Regions from separate parts of the Homo sapiens genome. Here region 1 is linked to region 2. The links are contacts of gene promoters, found by promoter capture Hi-C in blood cells and fetal thymus (Javierre and others, 2016). All regions are on one chromosome and are shown on one strand. The core of a region is centred on a gene start or on the middle of the fragment in contact, and the rest is flanking DNA. Distances in the headings are between cores, read along the strand shown.

Region 1 (5,639 bases), core at 2,997-5,496, 510 kb before region 2:
CCTTCCCCAGGTCTCCTTCCCCAGGCTGTCCTGGGGCCCAGCTCTGTCTCTCACCTGGCGGTGTGGGCCTCGAGGGCTGGGCCTGTTGTGGGCCAGACCCCACCTGTTGGAAATGCAGCCACCACAGTGCTCAAACAGCTGACCTTGTGCTTCCTTCATGTGGAGGGAAAAAGACCTGGGGGCAGACCACTAACTGAACCAGCGTCATTTATGCAGAAAATGCATCCCTCTTGCCATTCCTATTTGCCCAAAGATATCCTGGAAGGGGGTCTTAGAGGCCAGCTGAATCCCTGTCCGAAGCAGGGGGTCAGAGAGAGATCTGCCCCAGCTGCAGAGCACGTGGCCTCCCAGTACGAGAAGTGGGGTGGCTGCACCCAGCACAGTGGGTACAAGGAAGTTGGAGCCACTCTGGACCACACTGGCCACAGCCTGATCTGCGCATTGCCCGGGCCCTGAGCACCTGGCCAGGTGCTGAACTCCTTTGGGAACTTCAGGTCTGATGGAGAGGTGCTCCGTCCACTCTGCCCAGTGTCTGCCCTCTGCCCAGACGCCCCAAAAGCAGCCGCAGAGAGAAGGCGAACTTTGGCTTCGGGGGCCCAGTGCCACCACTTCCGATCTGCGTGGCGGTGGTCAAGTGGCCTGGCTTTGCCGAGCCGCTTCCTCATGTTGCACGTGGGGATGACGGAGCCGCCCTCCAGGAAGCTCCAGGGATTCATAAGACCAGGCGTGCCAGAGCTGCAGGTCTCAGCAGCTGATCACTAAGTGCTGGTGCCTGCTCACAAGGGACAGCTGCCCACCAGCTCTGGGCCATGGCTGGGGGCTCCCGCCCAAGCCCTGGGCAACTGATGATACGTTGCTGACCGCAGGCAAGCCTCCCTGCCAGCCCTGCTGGCCTGCATGGGACCAGGGAAGGAGGGTGAGGCCTATATTTATCTGCAGTGTGAGGAGGCTTGTCTGGCAGTCAGATGCAAATGCCTTCATCCCATCTAGGCTGGTTGCTGCTCACAGCGGACAAGTCTTTCCCGCCTGTTCCACACCAGCCTGGTGCCAGTGACAGGGGTGGCGGGAGCTTCACAGTGCCTGGAGGCTCGTTCCTGGGCTGCGAAAGCGCCTGAGTGACGGAGGCTCAGGCTGAGCTTAGGCGAGTTTACTGAGGCTTAGGAGGAAGCCGGATCAGAAGAGGCTGCAGAAACCATAATGCCCACACATCCCTGCCCCAGCGGCGGCCCACAGGTGCCTGGCCTCAGCTCAGCTACACTGGAGGGGAGGTAGCCAGCACCCTGATGGTGTCTCGGTTCTAAGACCCCATTTACACAGTGGAAAACAGGAGGCAGCCGCCCAGCGACCTCTGCCCTTCAAAGGCTCCAAGAGAAGCAAAGGGACAGGTGTAAGGAAGTAAGCCCTGACCCTGGAGACTCAACAAGCCCTGATGAAGTTAGACGAAGTTACAAGCTGGGCCCTGACCCTGGTCACACACTAAGCTCTGACCCTGGTCTCAGACTGAGCCCTGATTCTCATCACTGAGTCACTAAGTCCTGATCCTGGTCACATGTCGAGCCTCGACCTTAGTCATACACTGAGTCTTGACCCTGGTCACAGGCTGAGCCCTGACCCTGGTCACACACTGAGCCCTGATCCTGGTCACACACTGAGCCCTGACCCTGGTCCTCAATCAGCTGAGCCTTGATCCTGCTTCCTGATTGGCTATGAACTGTTCCAGTGTGGAAGGGAGAGGCCAGGGCATGAGGTGGGACTCGCTAGGGCAGCCCCTCTGCACATCTGGGACTCAGGTCAGAACACAACCCTCCCTACATGCGAGAAGAAGTTCCTGCAGGTGGCATCTTTCAGGTAGCTGTGCTTTAAGCCTGCGCTGGGCTTGCCCTCCGGTGACAGCAGCAGCTTTCAAGGAGGCAGCCATGAGACAGTCCCTCAGGCTGGGGGCTTGATCACGCTCACCTCAGAGCCTCACCTCCTGGGGAGTGAGCAAAAGTGAGAGTCATTAACCCACTTTACAGAGGAGGAAACGGAGGCCCGGGAAGGGGCCTCAGGATCTCGCCCAGAGAATAGCCGGTCCTGAAGACCCTGCATCTGAGCCACACCCTGCTCTGCCCACACCTCCTGGGGTCTCAGCACCCCCAGTGCATTTTCCCCCGCCCCCGGCCTGCACTGTGAGCTCCGGTTGGTGGTTCCTAGCAAGCACCTGTTGGCTGTGCCAGGCCCCAAGCGCCTCATGAGCTAAAGAGGGTGCCCTGCTATTCTGGGGCTCAATGCCCAGCCTCTGCCCGAGTAGCCTTGTCTGTGCCTGTCCTGGGCCGGCCCTCCACGTCTGGAGGGGAGACGGAGCTTGCCTTCTCTGTGCTGTGGGACTGACTGTGTCGGGGTGGGGCAGGGAGGAAGCAAAAACCAAACCCCTCGCTTCCCCGACTGCCTGCCCTCGCCTGTCTCCAAACCTCACGGACATCCAGCTCGAGGGAAGTGAACGTCACTCCAATATCTGAAAATGCAGCTGATGCTGCAATTACATCCCCTGTCCCTTCTCCTTCCGGGGGTCCTCTGGGGTCCTGGGAATCCGGCCAACAGGAATCTGTTTTATGATCCTGAGTCTCTGCCAGCAGGAAGGCCGGGCGAGGCCGGTCCCTATGTGCCCACGATGCTCTCACATAAATATGCATCACTTAAAATTTAATAAAAAATACCAATTATAAAAGCTATTTACCCAGTCAAATCAATCACTGGCCTTGGTGTGTTTATGCCTGAACACCTGATTTCTGCTCATAAGTCACTTTTACACCCTCTTTAGGTGCTAACGACCTGAGTGAGCTGGCAGCGGTTCCGGAGGGATGGGGCTCACCTATCCCAACCCCTCACCCCCACTCCTCAGGGCCGGGGAAGTCAGCTTGCCTCTCAGGAAGCTGGAATCCCAGAATCAGGGCTCAGAGCCTCTGGCCTCCTGTGGGCAGCCCCAGTCCCCTCTGCAGGTAGTAGAGTCAAACCTCCTCTCCTTCAGGAGGTCTTCCCTGCCCTCCCCAATTCTCAGGGCTTCTCCAACATTAAATGGGCGGCTCTGTCTGCATTAGCAAGAAATGTGTTCAATTTCTCACTTTCTGCAGCAGCGACTGCAGGCCCACCACACACAGAGCCTGTTTCAGCTCCAAGGGGTACCAGCTGTATGCCCCTTTTGCAAAGCGTGAGTCCCTGTTGATGTCAGGGATGGAGGCGGGTAACATAAGACACCAGGGCTGTGCCTGGGTCCCTGCCTGCCTCACACCAGAGCATCTTGCCAACTAGAAGAGGATTCCTGGCCAAGGAATCATCCACGCCAGTTTGGGAACTGTGGCCACATGGCCCATGAGGAGGCAGGAGGGGCAGGGGAACAGCATCCCCTACCCCAGATCTGCTCTTCATCCAGGCCCCACACTTCCTGGCTGAGTGACCTCAGGCTGGTCTCCGGACCTCTTTGATCCTCCATGTCCTTATCTTTGGATCAAGAATTGCTGTGAGTTTGAGTGAGTCAGTGCATGGTGGGTACTTAATCCTGATACTCAGTGGCATCATAGCCACAGCTGGCATTCGTTTGTGTGCTCTCTGCCTTCATTCAGCTGTATTTATTGAAAGGCAGTTTGGCCACGTCACTAAGTACATGGACTCTGATATCAAATCCACCTGGATTTGAGCTTCAGCTCTGCCACTCGTGGTGTGATAGTGGATAAGTCACTTAGCCTCCTTGTGACTCAGGTTTCTTGTGGCAAGACAAATGCCACAGTGGGTATCTCACAGGGTTGGAGATGCATTCTGGAATGCAGATGTGATGGTTGGAGCTGAAGCAGCCCTTTTGGGCTGCAACAAAAAGCTCACAGTTTTGGGATGAAGCAAGATCTTCAGGCAAAGAGTTTTGTTCATAGTTGCTGGATCCCAAATGCCTCCAAACCATGCAGTCCCCAATGTCTGCTGAGGTGGAGGTGGCACAGTGCAGGGACTAGGCCTGGCTTTGCCCTGACAGTGCGATGGTGGCAAGTTGAGAGTAGTCTCTGTATTTCTGTTACCCCATCCCTATCAGGGACCACAATGCACCACCTTCATAGGTTGCTGGGGGGATTAAAACATGGGGTATAAGCTTGTTGGTGTAATGCCCATCACATGGTGGGGCTCACAATAACTCAGCCAGTTTACTATTAAATGTATCAAGGGTACCAAGTGTTCTGCTGTGTACCAAGTGATCAGCTAAGCAATTTGCACATTTTATTCTATTTAATCCTCTCAAATTCACGCTGGAATTTTATCAGAAGTCTTCACAAACATTCCCCATTTCACCATTTGCGACAGTTAGATTTGGTGGTAAGTCACAGAGACTGAAAATAGCAATGGCCTAAAAAAGAAAGAAGCTTCGCTCTCCCTTTTCCATAGAGCCTGGAGGCAGGCCAGCCAGGACTGAAATGGTCTACTCCACAGAGAGCTCAGAGACCAGGCTCCTTTTGCCCTGTTGGTCCCCCAAGCATGGCCTCCATTCTCAAAGCCACTTCAAGGTGCAAAAGGGTGCTTCGGCTCCAACGATCACATCTGCATTCTAGGGGGCAGCAAGGGAGAGGCAAGCTGTGAGTGGCAGCTGACTTTTAAAACTGCCCCTGGACACTTGCTTCTGTTTACATGTCACTGGCCAGAACTTCAGTCATGTGGCTGTGCCTGGGTGAAAGGAGAATTGTGATATGTAACCACTTTCTTCTATGTGTGCCCAGCTAAACTTTCTGCGCAAGAAAGGAGGAGAGAATGGGCATTGTAGGACAACTAGCCCTCTCAGACCCACCCATGTTTGATCATTTTTTAGTGTAATTTTAGCTAATCCATCTAGGGAAGCTAGCATTCAGTGTAAAGCAGGATTTCTTCCCCTTGACACTATTGCTATTTTGAGCTGGGTGATTCTTTGCTCTGGGGACAGGGGCCATCCTGTATCCTGTGCATTGCGGGATGCTGAACAGCTTCCCTGACCTCTGCCCACTAGATGCCAGCAGCACCTCCCAGCTGTGACAATCAGACATTGGCAAATGTCCCTGGAGGACAAAATTGTCCTTGATTGAGAACCTCTGACTTAAAGCAAAGACAAAAGTGATGACTGGAGGAGAAAGGTCACGCAGGGAAAATCAGTCACAGGCTGGGGGAGACATTCCACTTTCCAGAGACCTTATCTCGCCACTTCCCCACCCCACTTCCCCCTTTTTGCCCGCATCACAAGTGACCTCCTCCACGGTAAGCTGAAAGCGTACAATTGGTCTATCATCTGTCCTCTGGATAAACCCTGGATTTGAGATGACGGTGTGAAAACACATGCTCAGGATCCGCAAATCTAGAACCAAATAGAACTGAAAATGGACACGTAAAAGGGGAGGATATTGTCAAATGAGAAATGTTAGACGGAATCACAAAGAGAAAGACGGACAGCTTGACTTATAGAAAAATCGGAAACTCCTGCCTCTTAACAAACACAGAAAAGGCCACAAATGAAAAGCCACTACCCCATGGAAAATATATTTCCAGCCAACACCGCATTCGAGGGGTTAACATCTTCAGCGTGTAAAAGGACTTTCTAAAAATTGATAAGTAACACGTAGAACCTCAGATAGGTTATTAGTCAAAGTATGTGGCTG
Region 2 (5,363 bases), core at 1,166-3,665:
GGAGTGCCATCCCTCAGTGCAAAGACACTGCCCTGATATCCAGAGATCCCCCAGGTCCCCTCCCATGGCCGTGCTGCCCTCAGCTCCCATACCTGGGCCCAACCCCCCACTGCATGCCCTCGGCTCCCCAGCGCCCTCAGAGCCCCAGCACATGGCGGGTGCCCCAGGAGTCCCTGGAGGGCAATGGAAGGCCTCCTAACCCAGGCTGCTGACCCAGTCAGGGTCCAAAGCCAAACCCAAGGATGAAGGTGTCGGAGAGCTGGCAGCCAGGAGCAGGTGGAAAGGCCAGGGTGGCAGAGCCTGAGAGACAGAGGGAGACAGGGCTGCCGGGCTCATGGAACAGGCCCAGCCCCTGAGTAGCAGCCTCGAGCAGCTGAGCCCAGAGAAAGATGTTGAAAGTCAGCCCGTAGCAGGCAGGGCAAGGGCCTGGGAGGAGAGGGGCCAGACCCCTGCCTGGGTGGGACCTCTTCCCAGAGCCAACGGCACTGCTGCCCCTCGGTGTGGCCTCTGAGCCCCGCTGTAAAGCAAGTGACACCCACCTGGTAAGGACTGGTCAGCGCCGAGCAGGGTGGCCCGGAAGCTCATGGTGCACATCCACGCAGCCACCACATCCCATCCTGTCCCAGGAAGTCACAGGTATTTCCCATTCTGTGGACGGCAGCCGAGGCTGGAGGAGGAGAGACCCGGCAGGCTCCAGGCCCCGCCTGCCAAGCACCATGCTGTACTGCCCACAGTGGCCAGCGTCCCTCAGTGTCCAGCAGCTGCAGGAGACCTGTGGAAGCCCCAGGAAGAGGCCTCAGGGCGTGCCTGGCTGGGCCCTCTCTATCTGAGTCCACTGCATCTTGCATGAAGGTTCCTTGGGAATCCTGGGGAGACCTGGGAAGTTCATTGGGAGCTCTGGATGCTGAAGGCCAGGAGCTTGGGCCGGGTGGGGAGGGCGGTGCAGGGGCTGGGGGGCTTGCCAGGGTCTCCTAGCACAAGCCACCCAGCTCCCGGCAGGTGGAGTCAAATAGACGTGTCTCCTCCACCGCCTCCACCCTCCCAGCCGAGGGCCCAGACCCCATATTGGCTCTCTCAGGGCCTCGGCCTCCTCTTGCCCTCCTAGAAAAGGCCCTGAAGAGGGAATTCTCATGGCTCCCTGGCTCTCCTCAGCGACTCCCTCCCACAGCAAGCAGGCCTGGAGCACCAGCACCTGACCCTCTGGGAAGCAAGCAGGTGGGAGCAGGGAGGGCGAGGCTCCCAGCCACCCCGCTGCTGGTGGAAAGCCTGGGTCTGAACCCACATCTTCCACAGTATGAAGGAGGCTCGATCAATTCCGGAAGATGCTAGACTTCTTCCAGAAATTCCAGCCCCAGATCCTGCCTCTTGCCTCCTCCCCAGAGCCTTGTTTCACAACATGATTGAACCGCCCCATTATTTAATAAAACTGTCAGAACAACTGATTTGTGCGATGTACATGGTTCCCTTTTTTTGCTCTTCTTTCTTTCCAGATTCAATAAACCCTGAAGTTGTTCCAAGAAGACAGGCGAGTGATGGGAAGCATCAATTTCCTGAGGACCAGCCCGGCTGCACAGGACAAGCCGCACTGAACCCAGTGGGGAGCCACCCCTAGAAAGGCCAGGGCAGCTGCTTATAGGGAGGCAACAACCACCCCTGCATGTGGAGGGTAGGAGAGGAGGTGGCAGGGAGTGAGTGCAACCAGGGAAAGCTTCCTGGAGGAGGAGACATCAGGATTCTGTCTTGACGCACTAACAGGAGTTTGCCGATGGAATAGAGGTGCAAGAGAATTGCATACAGAAGGAAAATTGAGTTTGCAAGGACATCTGCAGGACAGCAGGGGCTGGGGGAGAACGCTTAGGGTGACAGAGTGCGTGGCCCCGGGGGGGTAGAGCGCTCAGACTTTGAAGTCAGAGCTCATACCAGGCCTGGGTGCCAAGGTAAGGTCCTTGATCTCCAGGCTGGGGTCACTCAAGGGCTGCAGGATTCTCAGGGAGGACTGTAGGTCCCACAGGCACTGGGCTCGGGAAGGGGCAGTGTCCCCAACCCACAACAGAGCTGGTGTAGCCGGGAGCCTCGCCCCTTCCCAGTGCAGGGAGAAGGCAGCCCACAGCCTCCATCACCCAAAGGAGTCGACTTTCGCACGCGCAGGGCTGTCAGGCTGACTGTGCACCCAGAACAATGCAGCCTCATCGCTACCGGGTCCTGTTGACTGTCAGGCCCTGGGACTCAGCTGCTTCAGCTCCTAAACTGGGCACCTCTTTCTGACTCGCTTGTTGGGAGAAAGGCTCCGCCCCTCTCCAGACCCCGCCCCCAGGGAGGAGGGGCAAGACCTCTCATTGGAGGGCTCTGTGGGAAGGCGGGCTCTGAGCACCAGCTCTGCCCCTAGCAGCTGCTGGGCTGGGGCAGGAAGGGGGAGAGTCCCCATGGCCCCAGCAGCAAGCCCCTGCCTCTCTCCTGTCCGGCTGCTGCCCCACTCTGAGGCCCAGGTTCTCTTCTCCCAAGAGCGAGTGCGTTGGGTAAGTCAGCGCCAGGGACCAGCCCCCAGGTTCCCCAGCTCCCAGGTGAGTGCAGAGAGAGGGGCGGCAGCTACAGCCCACTTAGCTCAGGCCACCTGGTCCCAGCGCCACGAGGCCGGAAGCTGCCTTCTCCCGAGGGCCCTCAGACCCCTCCACCCCTGCCCAGCCCAGCCTCCAGCTGCCCACTGCCCTCAGCCCTCACGCCCTCACTCACTTCACAGGCAGCAGAAGTGGGCTGGAGTTCCAGCCGTGTGGCTGGGGTGAGCAGAGGGAGGGTTTTCGCTGAGACGTGGGTGAGGCTGCTCCCTCCATAGACTGTGAGAATCGGAGGGTGTCCCTCCCGTACACCTGGAAACTCCCAGACACCCCAGGACACTCCCTGAAGGGTCCTTGGAAAGGCCTGACAAGGAAGGGGGGGCACTCTGCCAGACACTCTGTCAGAGAACATTCTAGACTCACCTCCCACCTGCCCCCTCACTAACAGCCTGCCCTCTCGGCCCGTCCTGGACGCCTCCCTCACTAACAACAGCTAAGTGTAGCAGAGCCTGCGATTTTTTCCCCCAGTTTTGGAGGGCTTCTGGCTGTCTGGCTAAAGACTCTGTTTTCCAGCCACCCTTCAGCAGGGGTAGTCCTGGGACCAACATATGGCCAGTAGGATGGAGGGATGGGACGAGGGAAGCCTCTGGGCTAAGTTGCTAACAGGAAGGAGCCGGCCACCCTGGTCCATTCTCCCCTCCCTGCTGGCCAGAGGATAGATGTGATGGCCGGAGCAAGAGCAGCCACCTTGGCCACAGATGGAAGCTGTGTGTCGAGGACAGCAGAGAAACAGGAGGAAAGGAGCCTGGGCTTCACTGTGGTGCTGCCACAACCCCCCTGGGCTGCCTGACCCCCCTGGGTTGCCACAAACCCCCTGGGCTGCCCACACTTCCATGGGGTCACCTGCCCTCTGTCCACTGCTCTTATTTCTGGCAGTGGCCTGAGCCCACAGCCCAACTCACCCCCACAGCATTTCTCATCCTGCTGGGCCTGTGGCTCTGGGCAGGTCCCTGCCTGGGGATTCCTGGCATCTGCCCTCTCATGGGTCTTTCAGTCTAATTGGCAAAACATTTGAAGAGCTCCTGCACTCACAGAGTGAAACCCCAGGAAACGGAGCCCGCGAGGGATGCCAAGCTCTCCTAATAACAACACCTTTGTTTATTGTGGGATGTGGGCTGCTGTTGTGATGCAGGATCCAGACCTCGAGTAACCCTGTGCGATGGCAGGCCTTCACCCTGGGACTGGCCAAGGGCCCTAGCCCCTTCATCAGAGGTAAAAGGGTATCCCCATTCCCACCCGCCTCCCACAGGGCTCCAGCCTGACACCACTCGAAACATCTCATCAGGCCTATTCTCCCGACTCCAGGTCACCCATGACTCTCCCGCCCTCATCCGTTTCTGCACATTCCTCGCCATGCCCATCTCCCTCCTGCCCATCCCGGAGCCCACCGGACTGCACAGCCAGCATCAGCACAGCCTGTCCTGCTGAGTGGGGCTGCCTGCAGTCCATGGCACGAGATAGAGGCAGAACCTGGAGGCAGGCCGAGGTCGCCGCTACTCCTGGCCACTTCCAGACCACCCTGCCACCATCCTCCCTTCAGTCCACGGTCCAGACTTCCTGGAAGGCACCTTGCAGCCTTCGTTTGCCGAATTGTGAGATGCGTTTGCTCACCGGCCTCCTCCCGCTGAGCGTCCCTGGTGTCTGACCCACCTCTGTTTCCTTCTGTATGCACAGGTGTTTGTTGCATGACTGAACGACATTGAGGAGGGGACACGGCTCAGTAGAAACTTCCTTTAAGATGCATACAAGCTGCGGCAAAGCAAAGTGTGTTTACAAGGAGTTCCTGTGTGGGCTGGGCAGGGGCATCAGCTGCTCTTACTGGGGGAGGATGGTAGTGATGCAAACACAAGAGGTAGGGTTGGCAGCCGCACCCCTTGCAACTATCAGGGCAGCCTTGGGGCTTTCACAGGCGTGGTGAGGACCTGTCCTTGCGTGTTTCCCTCTTACCATGTTACCATGGAAACACACCATGCATGGACCTTACCCTGCGGATATGCCCCCTACGTGGCAAAAGGGATGTGCGGATGTGAAGGACCAGGAGATGTGTGACAATCCTGGGGGACCCAGGTGGGTCCTAAATGTCACTTCAAGGGTCCTTTTAAGAGGAAGGCAGGTGGCCAGGCTTATGCCTATAATCCCAGCACTTTGGGAGACCGAGGTGAGAGGGTCACTTGAGGCCAAGGCCAGCCTGGGCAAAATAGCAAGACCTCGTCTCTACAGAAAAAAATTAAAAATTAGCCGGGCATAGTGGCGTGCCCCTGTAGTCTCAGCTACCCGGGAGGCTGAAGCAGGAGGATCACCTGAGCCCAGGAGATGGGGGCTGCAGTGAAGCATGATGGCACCACTGCACTCCAGCCCTGCATTCAAGCGCGGGTGACAAAGCGAGACCCAATCTCAAAAAAGAAAAAGAGAGGGAGGCAGGAGACAGGTGTGAGGAGGGGAAGGGCTGCGAGACAGAGGCTTCGAGGAAAGCAGAAGGTCTCCAGAAGCCTGCAGAGGCCAGGAGGGAGCCTCCCATGGGGCCTCTGGGAGGAGCCTGCTCTGCCGACGCCTAGATGGAGCCCCTAACTCTCCTTCTGGATTTCTGACTCTGGAGCTGTGAGAAACGAACTTCTGTTGGTTGAAGTCACGGGTTGGTGGTTAGTTATTACAACAGAAACAGGAAACCGGTATGTCGGGTCGCTCCCAGCCTCAAGCCCCAGCTCTATTTTCCCATAAAAGCTAAGTTCTCACCATGAGGTGCTCTAGCTG

What was found. The method cuts DNA at HindIII sites, captures the fragments that hold promoters and counts their contacts. A CHiCAGO score of 5 or more calls a contact.
Region 1: a contact is called between a fragment that was not itself captured here and the fragment with the promoter of LINC00051 in region 2, in 4 of 17 cell types (M0 macrophages, M1 macrophages, M2 macrophages and 1 more). The highest score is 7.9, in M0 macrophages.

Annotation. Positions count from the first base shown.
Region 1 is chr8:141,684,215-141,689,853 of GRCh38, forward strand. No RefSeq gene overlaps it. Among named protein-coding and RNA genes, the nearest start is that of MIR1302-7, 99 kb to the right of the region's middle. The HindIII fragment of the contact is 268 bases long and covers 4,113-4,380 here.
Region 2 is chr8:142,195,941-142,201,303 of GRCh38, forward strand. It overlaps LINC00051 (long intergenic non-protein coding RNA 51), which reads left to right and starts at 2,416. Exons shown (of 3, transcript NR_024378.1): 1 at 2,416-2,516. LOC105375792 (a long non-coding RNA gene) reads right to left here and starts at 1,589. Exons shown (of 4, transcript XR_007061194.1): 1 at 1-1,589. RefSeq lists an enhancer at 2,168-2,462. The HindIII fragment of the contact is 4,093 bases long and covers 1,707-5,363 here.